2 separate regions of the Homo sapiens genome follow, and region 1 is linked to region 2. The links are contacts of gene promoters, found by promoter capture Hi-C in human tissues and cell types (Jung and others, 2019). All regions are on one chromosome and are shown on one strand. The core of a region is centred on a gene start or on the middle of the fragment in contact, and the rest is flanking DNA. Distances in the headings are between cores, read along the strand shown.

Region 1 (5,806 bases), core at 1,284-3,783, 240 kb before region 2:
CAATCATACCACTGTACTTTCATGCTGACCTAAGTAAAATTATCCTAGGTTTACAGAGGAAAAGAACCAAATCCCCAAATGACTGGCTCCTCTGTCACTGAAGCTGCTCTGTGGAACATAATTCAAAATTACAGACCTAACCTACACTCACAAAACAAAAATAAGACTACTGGTACCCAAATACGTATTTCTACAGAGTAATTAAACTGTTTCTGTATACTGTGTTTAGAGTTAGCCACTATGTCTAAATCAATCACCTACTAAATTAAAACAGGCTACTTTCCCTTTCTAGTAAGGCAGGAGAAGGGACTATATAAAGAGTCTATAACAATGGGCTGATCAAGATATAAATGTCCAGTTTTAGCTAAATGCATGTCACTGAGAACAAAGATCATTTTGAGCTTTCTTTGGAATATTAAAACCCCAACCTTATATAGTGAAACTGATTATTCCTCAACATCTTGTTGTGATAGTATGTTCCTTCCTGCTGTTGTTTTTTTTTTTGAGATGGACTTTCGCTCTTGTTGTCCAGGCTGGAGTGCAATGGTGCAATCTCAGCCCACCGCAACCTCCTCCTCCCAGGATCAAGCAATTCTCCTGCCTCAGCCTCCCGAGTAGCTGGAATTACAGGCATGCACCACCACGCCCAGCTAATTTTCTATTTTTAGTAGAGATGGGGTTTCTCCACGTTGGTCAGGCTGGCCTCGAACTCCCAACCTCAGGTGATCCGCCTGTCTCTGCCTCCCAAAGTGCTGGGATTACAGGGCATGAGCCACTGTGCCCGGCTATATGTTCCTTCTAATACATCACTAGATTACATGGAAACCTCCTGCTGGTGCAACACTCCAGACTACCTGGCTTCATTCACCATTTACAGATAAACTAAAACAAGCCAGGTGCAGTGGCTCACACCTGTAATCCTAGCACTTTGGGAGGCCAAGGTGGGCAGACTGCCTGAGCTCAGGGTGAGTTCCAGACCAGCCTGAACAACAGGGTGAAACCCCGTCTCAGGCCGGGCGCGGTGGCTCAAGCCTGTAATCCCAGCACTTTGGGAGGCTGAGGCGGGTGGATCATGAGGTCAGGAGATCGAGACCATCCTGGCTAACACGGTGAAACCCCATCTCTACTAAAAATACAAAAAAATTAGCCGGGCGTGGTGGCGGGCGCCTATAGTCCCAGCTACTCGGGAGGCTGAGGCAGGAGAATGGCGTGAACCTGGGAGGCAGAGCTTGCAGTGAGCTGATATTGCGCCACTGCACTCCAGCCTGGGCGACAGAGCGAGACTCCGTCTCAAAAAAAAAAAAAAAGAAGAAAAAGAAAAGAAACCCCGTCTCTACTAAAACACACACACACACAAGCTGGGTGTGGCGGCGTGTGCCTGTAGTCCCCCGTCTCTACTAAAACACACACACACACACACACACACACACACACACACACACGCTGGGTGTGGCAGCGTGGGCCTGTAGTCCCCCGTCTCTATTAAAACACAAACACACACACAAGCTGGGTGTGGCGGCGTGCGCCTGTAGTCCCAGCTACTGGGGAGGCTGCAGCAGCAGAACTGCTTGAACCCGAGAGGCGGAGGTTGCAGTGAGCCGAGATCACACCACTGCACTCCAGCTTGGGCAACAGAGTGAGACTTGTCTCAAAAAAAAAAAAAGAAAGAAAGAAACTAAAACAGACTAACTTTGATACTGCAAAGTTATACCAATCAGTAAATAATAAAGCTAGTATTTTCCAAGTAAGTCATTTCCCAGAAAATATTAGACCCTATCAGCAAATGAATACAAAAAGTTTCCAAGTTCATTGGGCCATTAAGCTTTCCCAACATAGCCATACATTTGAAAATTTATGTGACACATGTGTAAGAAATGGTGTACCTTCTTTACGGTCCAAGGCCAATTTATTCCCTGCCTGCTTATCCCTAACTCCAATTCGCGTACACCTTCCAGTTTCATTCCGTATTACCTCTTCCCTGGACTCAACTATTCTTCCACTAATTTGCCCATTACCACATAAATATCTTCACATCGCTTAGCCTAAAACTAAATTGAAACCTTAGTTATATTTTAAATGCTTGCCCTTATCCCTCCCCAAATTTTGGAAGGCACTACTACTCATACCAATTTCCTCTCTCCAAACAATCCACTATTTTAAAATGACATCCAGCTCCAACTCATCACCTGAAAATGCTGAGTTTACCAATGACTACTAGTCAGTCACCCAATCCATCAAGCATGCTTCAATGTGAAGCCATATGGCATAGAAACTAAAATGAGACTTTGTAACTTGACTACTGGGTTAGAATTTCCTAGCTCTGTTTCTTCTTCTGGCAATGCAATATGGACAAGCTACTAAACCTTTTCTGCCTCAGCTTCCTCATTTCTGTGAAATGACATAAATGTGCCCAGTAAGTGGGGTGACACAGTATACCATGCCCACAAGGGGTATTCACCTGGTCACCCCCCATAAAAAAATTAGTATGTGTCAAACACTTAGAACTATGTCCAACAAATACATACTTAATAAATGTCAAGATAAAGACTATCTCATTTTTTTGCAGCATCCAAAACTGCATGGAAAAACTCTCAAAATTTTTCTTGGCCTTCGTAACAGTACTTTGATTTTCCTCCTACCATATACTGCCAAAGGCTCTTACTCCTGTCTCTTATGTCTAGATGTGACCAATTTTATCCTTTTTTTCCACTCCTTGGCCACTTCATCTATACCCACTTACAACGAAGATATCTTTAGTCTACCCATCTCGCTCAATAAATGTCTTTATTTCTGGCTGTCTACAGGATATAGCTCCCCTGGCTGATGACAAGCAAAACATATGAAAATGAATTCTATACTCCCAGGCAACCCTAAAGGTACTAGCAAAAGCCCAAGAGCCACTTTTAACTCTTTCAGTCTGAAATCTGTCAACAGGTCTCGAATTCTATCATTTAAATACTGCCTGATTTTTCCTCCATCTCTACAACCAGTATTTTGGTTCAAGGCTCCATCGTCCTTTGCCAGGGCTATTACAATTGCCTCCTAACTGCATTCTTTCTTATTTAAATATTACTGGTTTATAGAGGAACTCATCTAATACCAATCAGAAGGTTCATACCACACTAATTGATTTTATGAAGATAGTATACAGTGCTAACCTAGATCAACCTAATGACAAAAATAGATCAGGGAGTCTCCACCTACAAATAGCACAATTGATAAAGACATTTCAATTTTACTGTTTTTAAACAGAATGTAGAAATATCTAGAAATACATATATTGGAGTTCAGACACATTGCACCTTTCACCTAATTTAGGTTACAAGAAAATTAAAGGACTTTGAGGTATTTGTTTATATTACATTCTCTGCTATGGGTATCTTTTAACACCACCATTAGGTGCATAAATTCCCAATGTTTAATTAGCAGTAATCACCTTTCTATTACATGATTTAACAAAAAGCTAAATACTGGAAGATGCATAGTGTAAGACTATGTATAACTTTCGAGAAATTTAAAAATCTAATAACACTTAAAATGTTTGCTAGAATAAGTAAAATGCAGAAAATAAAACCGTATCTATGCTAATACCATTTGTTATTCATTCAAGAAAGGAACAAATAACATTTCTTTTAAAGGTCAAGGTTTATTCCAAATTTTTACTTGTATTTTTATACTAAAGAGTAAAAAATACCTGTAAAAACTCAAAATAATAAACCCCAAAGTAAAATTTTAATTCACCTGCCTTTACAGTTTTCCTGTACTTCAGAACTAGCGTAATCTTTATGTATAGAAGCATATAATTCTAAACTGTAACTCCCAGGAATGACCTGAAATTAAATCCAAGAGTCAAAACCTAAACACACAATAAAGAGAACAGGTCCTGAATGCCACAGAACAGCTATCTTCTACATAATTGATAGATATAAGGAACCTACCAAAATCCATTTTAGCTGACCAAACTGAAACTTTCAGAAAAATCTATTACTCAAGTTTTATTTGTTCATTAGCAACCCCAAGGCCCTTCCCTAATTAGTTTATTACCTAAACATATAATTTTATTAAAATAACATGTTTTAAAAATTTTATTAAAATAGGTTATCACAAGACAATTACAAAACAAATCAAATGACTGTTTATTAACTTCTATTTCTTCACAAAATTCTGAACTTAATAATCCCTTAAAGATCATGTACTGGAACTCTTTTGGCGCTTCATGCAGTTGTTGCTATACATTGAGTAATATTAATATTTTTCTCAAACAAATTTGGACCTTGAAAATTTAATGAAAGTTTAGGTACAGACTTCTTAAGGAAAAAATACTGTACATTTTTCCTATCAGTCTTCCAAAAGTCAAACAGCAACAACTAATGACATCATGGCAGAGTTATCAACAAAATGAAATTGTTAGTGATGTCATACTAGACTGGAATGCTTTATACGACCAAGTAATATAAAAAATTTTAGGCCGGGAGCAGTGGCTCATGCCTGTAATCCCAACACTTTGGGAGGTCAAGGTAAGCGGATCACCTGACGTCAGCAGTTCAAGACCAGCCTGGCCAACATGGTGAAACCCCATCTCTCCTAAAAATACAAAAACTAGCCGGGTGTGGTGGTGCACGCCTGTAATCCCAGCTACTTGGGAGACTGAGCCAGGAGAATTGCTTGAAGTTGGACAGCAAAGGTTGCAGTGAGCCAAGATCATGCTACTGCACTCCAGCCTGGGCAAGAGAGTGAAGCTCCGTCTCAAAAAAAAAAAAAAAAAAAAAAAAAAAAAAAAAAATTTAGTAACTTCATCTACACAAGGATGTTAGCGGTCACCAGCACTTACAACTAAAAAAAAAAAAAAAAAAATTTTTTTTTCTTTTCTTTGAGACAGGGTCTTGCTGTGTTGCCCAGACTGGTCTTGAACTCCTGGGCTCAAGCAATCCCACTGCCTCAGCCTCCCAAAGTGTTGGGATTAGACATGCGCCACCATGCCCAGCCACCAACAATTACAATTTACCAGATTAAAAAATTGCCTTCATCTCAAAGGTAAACACTGAAATATACCAAATTTGGGAGGAAGGGACTTGGAGAGTAGGCAGAAATCTTAGGATAGTAGTGCTCTAGAACTTTTTTGTGTTACACACTCATTGAGAATAAAATTTATTCAAGGAATATTCAATGATTACTATGTGGCAGGTACCGGGCCTACAAAGTAGAACAAAAAGGTCCCTGACCGCACATGATTTTTATTTTAGTAGCATAGAAGTTTTGGTTCCTCTGCCCTAAATCTTAACTGAAACCTGGAGGTCCAAGGAATGGCTTTAAAGAAATCTGTGGTCTAGGAAAAGGCAGGATAAGAAGAGAACCTAAGAACAGATTTTTTTCCCTCTACTCCCATTGGAAACCTAATTTTATGATGAAAGCCAAGAAAAGATAGGATTTAACTTAAAGACAATAAAGAGAACAGGTCCTGAATGTCACAGTTTTGATGAACTACAAGTATTCTTTATAAGAATTCTACCAGGCCAGGCATGGTGATTCACACCTGTAATCCCAGCACTTTAGGAGGCTGAGGCGGGTGGATCACCTGAGGTTGCGAGTTTGAGACCAGCCTGACCAACATGGAGAAACCCCATCTCTACTAAAAATACAAAAATAGCCAGGTGGTGCATGCCTCTAATCCCAGCTACTCGGGAGACTGAAGCAGAACAGCTTGAACCCGGGAGACAGAAGTTGAGCCACTGCACTCCAGCCTGGGCAACAAGAGTGAAACTGTCTCAAAATAAATTAAAAAATAAAAATGCTATCAATCACTGAA
Region 2 (5,892 bases), core at 2,174-4,673:
ATTAGCCAGGTGTGATGGTGTGCACTTGTAGTCCCAGCTATTTGGGAGGCTGAGGCAGGAGAATCACTTGAAACCAGGGCGGGTGGAGGTTGCAGTCAGCCGAGATTGTGCCACTGTACTCCAGCCTGGGAGACAGAGCGAGACTCTGAAAAAAATAAAAATATAAATATAAAATAAATAAAACTCAGGTCAGAAACACATCTTCTTTCTCAGTATACAGTCTTGCTGCAGATTCTGTAAGCACACAGACGGTTAAGCATACAGAATCTGGAAGAAGACTGGATTCTAGATCTATCACTTACTAGCTCTGTGATCTGGCGCAAGGCCAGGCAATTGAATTTTAATCTGTAGGCCCGAGATTTCTTTCTTTTTTTTTTTCTATGGAGACGGAGTCTCGCTCTGTCGCCCAGGCTGGAGTGTAATGGCGTGGTCTCGGCTCACTGCAACCTCTGCCTCCCGGATTCAAGCGATTCTCCTGTCTCAGCCTCCTGAGTAGCTGGGATTACAGGTGCCTGCCACCATGCCAGGGTAATTTTTGTATTTTTAGTAGAGACGGGGTTTCACCATGTTGGCCAGGCTGATCTTGACCCGCTGACCTCGGCCTCCCAAAGTGCTGGGATTACAGGCGTGAGCCACTGTGCCCACCAGAGATTTCTAAATTGAGCTGATTGTCAGGAACATCCAGGGAGCTTTCAAAAATGATTCCAGGCTGAGGCTGGGCGGGGTGGCTCATGCCTGTAATCTCAGCACTTGGGGAGGCCGAGGTGGGTGGATCACCGGAGGTTGGGAGTTTGAGACCAGCCTGACCAACTTGGAGAGACCCTATCTCTACTAAAAATACAAAAATTAGCTGGGCGTGGTGGCGCATGCCTGTAATCCCAGCTACTCAGAAGGCTGAGGCAGGAGAATTGCTTGAACCCAGGAAGTGGAGGTTGCAGTGAGCTGAGATTGTGCCATTGCACTCCAGCCTGGGCAACAAGAGCGAAACTCCATCTCAAAAAACAAACAAACAAACAAACAAAAAACAAAACCAAAAAAAAAAAAAATGATTCCAAGCTGGGCATGGTGGCTCACACCTGTAATCCCAGCACTTTGGGAGGCCGAGGCGGGCAGAACAGGAGGTCAAGAGATCGAGACCAGACCATCCTGGCCAACACAGTGAAACCCCGTCTCTCCTAAAAATACCAAAATTAGCTGGGGGTGGTGGTGCACACCTGTAGTCATAGCTACTTGGGAAGCTGAGGCAGGAGGATCGCCTGAACCCGGGAGGCAGTGAGCCGAGATTGCGCCACTGCACTCCAGTGTGGTGACAGAGCCAGACTTCCTCTCAAAAAAACAAACAAAGGTTCCAAGGCTCTACTCCAGAAATTAAGACCCATTATGTGTGGGCTGGGCACAGGAATATGTTTAAATCCCCCCCCACCTCCCCAGGGTGATTCTGCTGCTGAATTAGGTTTTGGAACCACTTCCATGGGGAAAGGGTAAACTAAACTGGAGAATGCAAAAACCTTTTTTTTTTTTTTTTTTTTTTTTGAGACAGAGTCTCACCCTGTTGCCCAGGCTGGAGTGCAATGGCGCGACCTCGGCTCACTGCAACCTCCACCTCCCAGGTTCAAGGGATTCTCCTGCCTCAGCCTCCCAAGTAGCTGGGATTACAGGTGCCCACCACTACACCCGGCTAATTTTGTGTGTGTTTTTAGTAGAGACGGAGGTTCACCATGTTAGTCAGGCTGGTCTCGAACTCCTGACCTCAGGTGATCTGCCCGCCTCGGCCTCCCAAAGTGCTGGGATTACAGGCGTGAGCCACCGCGCCCGGCCAGCAAAAACCTTTTCTAAGAGTTAATTTTGCAGGATGGATCCTGAGCTCCTTCAGGTGTTTGATAACATTTTATTTATTTTTTGAGACAGAGTCTCGCTCTGTCACCGAGGCTGGAGTGTAGTGGCGCGATCTTCGCTCACTGCCCCCTCCACCTCCCAGGTTCAAGAGATTCTCCTGCCTCAGCCTCTCGAGTAGCTGTGATTACAGGCGCCCACCACTATGCCCGGTAATTTTTGTATTTTTAGTAGAGACGGGGTTTCGCCATGTTGGCCAGGCTGGTCTCAAACTCCGGACCTCAGGTGATCCACCCGCGTTGGCCTCCCAATACGCTGGGATTACAGGCGTGAGCCACTGCGCCTGGCTGTTTGCTAACATTTTAAAATTTCAACCTTCCTCTTCCTTAACTGGTCTTCCCCTACCCCCCCTCAAGACGGGGTCTCTCGCTCTGTCGCCCCAGCTGCGGTGCAGTGGCGTGAACATAGCTGACGGCAGAAGACCTCCTGGGCTCAAACGATCCTCCTGGCTCGTGCTCCCAAAGTACTGGGATTATGGCGTGTGACACCACGCCTGGCGTCAAACGTTTGTCTTTTTATTTATTTTATTTTGTATTTTTTGAGACAGGGTTTTCAATCTGTCGCCCACGCTGGAGTGCAGTGGCACAATTTACGGCTCACCGCAGCCTCGACCTCCCGGGCTCAGGTGATCCTTTCGCCTCAGCCCTGCTAATATCTGGGATCACAGACGTGGGTTTTACCATGTTGCCCAGGATGGTGTCAATCTCCTGGGCTCAAGTGATCCGCCCACCTCGGCCTCCCAAATTGCTGGGATTACAGGCGTGAGCTACCGCGCCCTGCCACAAACGCATATCTTCTAACGTACCATTTCATTTACTTGCTATATTCATTATCTGAATTTTCTCATATTAGAATGTAAGCAGAATAAAGGCAGTGATTTTTCTTTTTACTGGCGATCCTCAGAGCCAAGAAGAGTCTGGGACATAGCAGGCCATATAAATGTTTTCGAATGAGTGAATCATCAACGAGTGGATGAAACGATAATGTGGCTAACAGGCAGCAGTAAGGAGGCTGTGTAGAATAAACCCGTAATCCCGATGTTGGCAGTTTGCTTAGAAAGAAAAAGGGAGGCAGTCGGAGAGGGGCACACGTTTTAACAAAATACTGGGAGGAGGAGGAAGGCTAGTTTTTTTTTTGTTTTCAAGTTTCCTTCTGATGTTACTCCCATGCTTCCGGGCACATTACGAGCTCAGTGCCTGCCGGAAATCTCCCACCTGGTGGCAACCTACCCTTGCATACACCCCACCCAGGGGCTTCAAGCCTTGCAGCTGAGTAAACACAGAAAGGAGCTCTACTAAGGATGCGCGTCTGCGGGTTTCCGCGCGACCTAGGCGCAGGCATGCGCAGTAGCTAAAGTCACCAGCGTGCGCGGGAAGCTGGGCCGCGTCTGCTTATGATTGGTTGCCGCGGCAGACTCCCACCCACCGAAACGCAGCCCTGGAAGCTGATTGGGTGTGGTCGCCGTGGCCGGACGCCGCTCGGGGGACGTGGGAGGGGAGGCGGGAAACAGCTTAGTGGGTGTGGGGTCGCGCATTTTCTTCAACCAGGAGGTGAGGAGGTTTCGACATGGCGGTGCAGCCGAAGGAGACGCTGCAGTTGGAGAGCGCGGCCGAGGTCGGCTTCGTGCGCTTCTTTCAGGGCATGCCGGAGAAGCCGACCACCACAGTGCGCCTTTTCGACCGGGGCGACTTCTATACGGCGCACGGCGAGGACGCGCTGCTGGCCGCCCGGGAGGTGTTCAAGACCCAGGGGGTGATCAAGTACATGGGGCCGGCAGGTGAGGGCCGGGACGGCGCGTGCTGGGGAGGGACCCGGGGCCTTGTGGCGCGGCTCCTTTCCCGCCTCAGAGAGTGGGCGGTGAGCAGCCTCTCCAGTGCGGAGGCACGGGGGCGGAACGTTGGTGCTTGTGCGGATTCCGCCGTCCCCAGGTTCTGCTTGGCTCCGGAGGGACGCCCCCCTCAGCCCTGAAACCCGTGCCTCTCCAGCCGCCCCGGATCTGAACTTGTGATCACGGAGTGTTTACGTCGTGCCAGGCATTTTAATGCATTGTTCTAGTTCATTTTCCAGCAGTCGCATTCCTCGCCTTGGCCCTACATGTAGCGCTCATTACAAACACGGCCAGAATCTCTTATTAACAAACAGCAGCCAGGAGTGAGATTTAAAATAGACTGGGGGTTTAGGAGACCCTTTTATGACACGTAATTCTGCTCCCACGACGCTCCCATTTATACCGCCGGTCCAGCTAAGGGTCTGGTAATGGAGCGCCGTTGAAGAGCAGTATGATGAAGTGGTCAGGACCAACGGACTCTGGAGCTGGGCTGCTTGGGATCAAGTCGCTGCCCCTCTGCTTATTAACGTGTGACCTTGGGCCAGTCATGGACGCTATCTGCTTCAGCTCAGCATTCAGTGCTCTCCGTCACCCGACCCCATCTATCCAGGATTATCTCTCCCTGGAAAGCTACAAACGTCTCACCCTATGTGGGCCAAATGTTCTGGATAGGCCTAGTTAACCTCTTCTCTCCCTGTTTTCTTTGCGCTTTCTTGCAGCTATGTAGTTATGCTAATGAAAAGAGCATCCTAGGGGGAGCAGAGTTGTGGATTCTAGTCCTGACTAGAGGACTAGTGCAAATGCGATACTCCTGATGAAAAATGTTTCATTCGTTAGATATAAATGTGTTAGGCAGGGTTATGGACACTAGATGAAAAAAGAAATACCTCTACTTTCATAGAGATCACTATTGGACAGCAAGGCAGAAATAATTACAATTCAAGTTGGAGGCTTATGGAGGTGAGCTTGTAAGAGGTTACAAGAGGCGCCAAGGCAGGATCGCCAAAGACGGAAGACTTTGGAAGAGTCTCATACAACGGAAGAGGCGTTATATGAGACACCAAAGTCCACGTTGAGTCTTGGTGGACTAGAAGTTTGCTAGGGAGAGGGCTTGAAACGAGGTAGATTGGCGTTGCTGGTGTAGAAAAGGAAGGAGACTGGCCCAGGTGGGTGGGGTTAGATGACCAAAGGCTTTTAGTGTGGTGTTGAGCTGTTGAAATTTTATGCTGTAGCCAATGAAAAGTCTGAAATGTTTTTTTTTTTTTTTTTTCTGAGACGGAGTCTTACTGTGTCGCCCAGGTTGGAGTTCAGTGGTGTAATCCTGGCTCACTGCAACCTCCACCTCCTGGGTTCAAGCGATTCTCCTGCCTCAGCCACCGGAGTAGCTGGGATTACAGGCACGTGCCACCACGCCTAGCTAATTTTTGTATTTTTAGTAGAGATGGGGTTTCACCATGTTGGCCAGGCTGGTCTCAAACTCCTGACCTCAAGTGATCCACCCACCTTGGCCTCCCGATGTGCTGGGATTACAGGTATTAGCCACTGCACCTGACCTACATAGATTTTACATAAGACTTTAAAACAGGGCGGGCGCAGTGACTCACGCTTGTAATCCCAGCACTTTGGGAGGCTGAGGTGGGCGGATCACAAGGTCAGGAGATCAAGACCATCCTGGCTAACATGGTGAAACCCTGTCTACACTAAAAATACAAAAATCCCAGCACTTTGGGAGGCTGAGGTGGGCGGATCACGAGGTCAGGAGATCCAGACCATCCTGGTTAACACTGTGAAACCCTGTCTCTACTAAAAATACAAAAAATTAGCTGGGTGCGGTGGCAGGTGTCTGTAGTCCCAGCTACTTGGGAGGCTGAGGCAGGAGAATGGTGTGAACCCGGAAGGCAGAGCTTGCAGTGAGCCGAGATTGTGCCACTGCACTCCAGCCTGGGCAACAGAGCGAGACTCCATCTCAAAAAAAAAAAAAAAAAAAAAAAAGACTTTAAAAAAAATTATAAGAAAGGACAGACCAAGTGCAGTGGTTCGTTCCAGCACTTAGGGATGCCAAGGTGGGAGGATTGCTTGATGCTAGGAGTTGAAGACTAGCCTGTGTAACATAGCGAGACCCATCTCTACAAAAAAATTAAAAAGTTACCTTTAGAACTTACGATTTTTAT

What was found. The method cuts DNA at HindIII sites, captures the fragments that hold promoters and counts their contacts. A contact is called where the count stands out against the background at its distance.
Region 1: a contact is called between a fragment that was not itself captured here and the fragment with the promoter of MSH2 in region 2, in 1 of the 25 tissues and cell types used here (hippocampus).

The regions. Positions count from the first base shown.
Region 1 is chr2:47,162,946-47,168,751 of GRCh38, forward strand. All of the region lies in intron 2 of CALM2 (calmodulin 2), which reads right to left. Among named protein-coding and RNA genes, the nearest start is that of STPG4, 11 kb to the left of the region's middle. The HindIII fragment of the contact is 6,403 bases long and covers 1-5,735 here.
Region 2 is chr2:47,399,733-47,405,624 of GRCh38, forward strand. MSH2 (mutS homolog 2) reads left to right here and starts at 3,424. Exons shown (of 16, transcript NM_000251.3): 1 at 3,424-3,670. The coding sequence starts at 3,460. RefSeq lists enhancers at 3,111-3,160, 3,165-3,875, 3,876-4,584, 3,951-4,010. The HindIII fragment of the contact is 21,211 bases long and covers 1-5,892 here.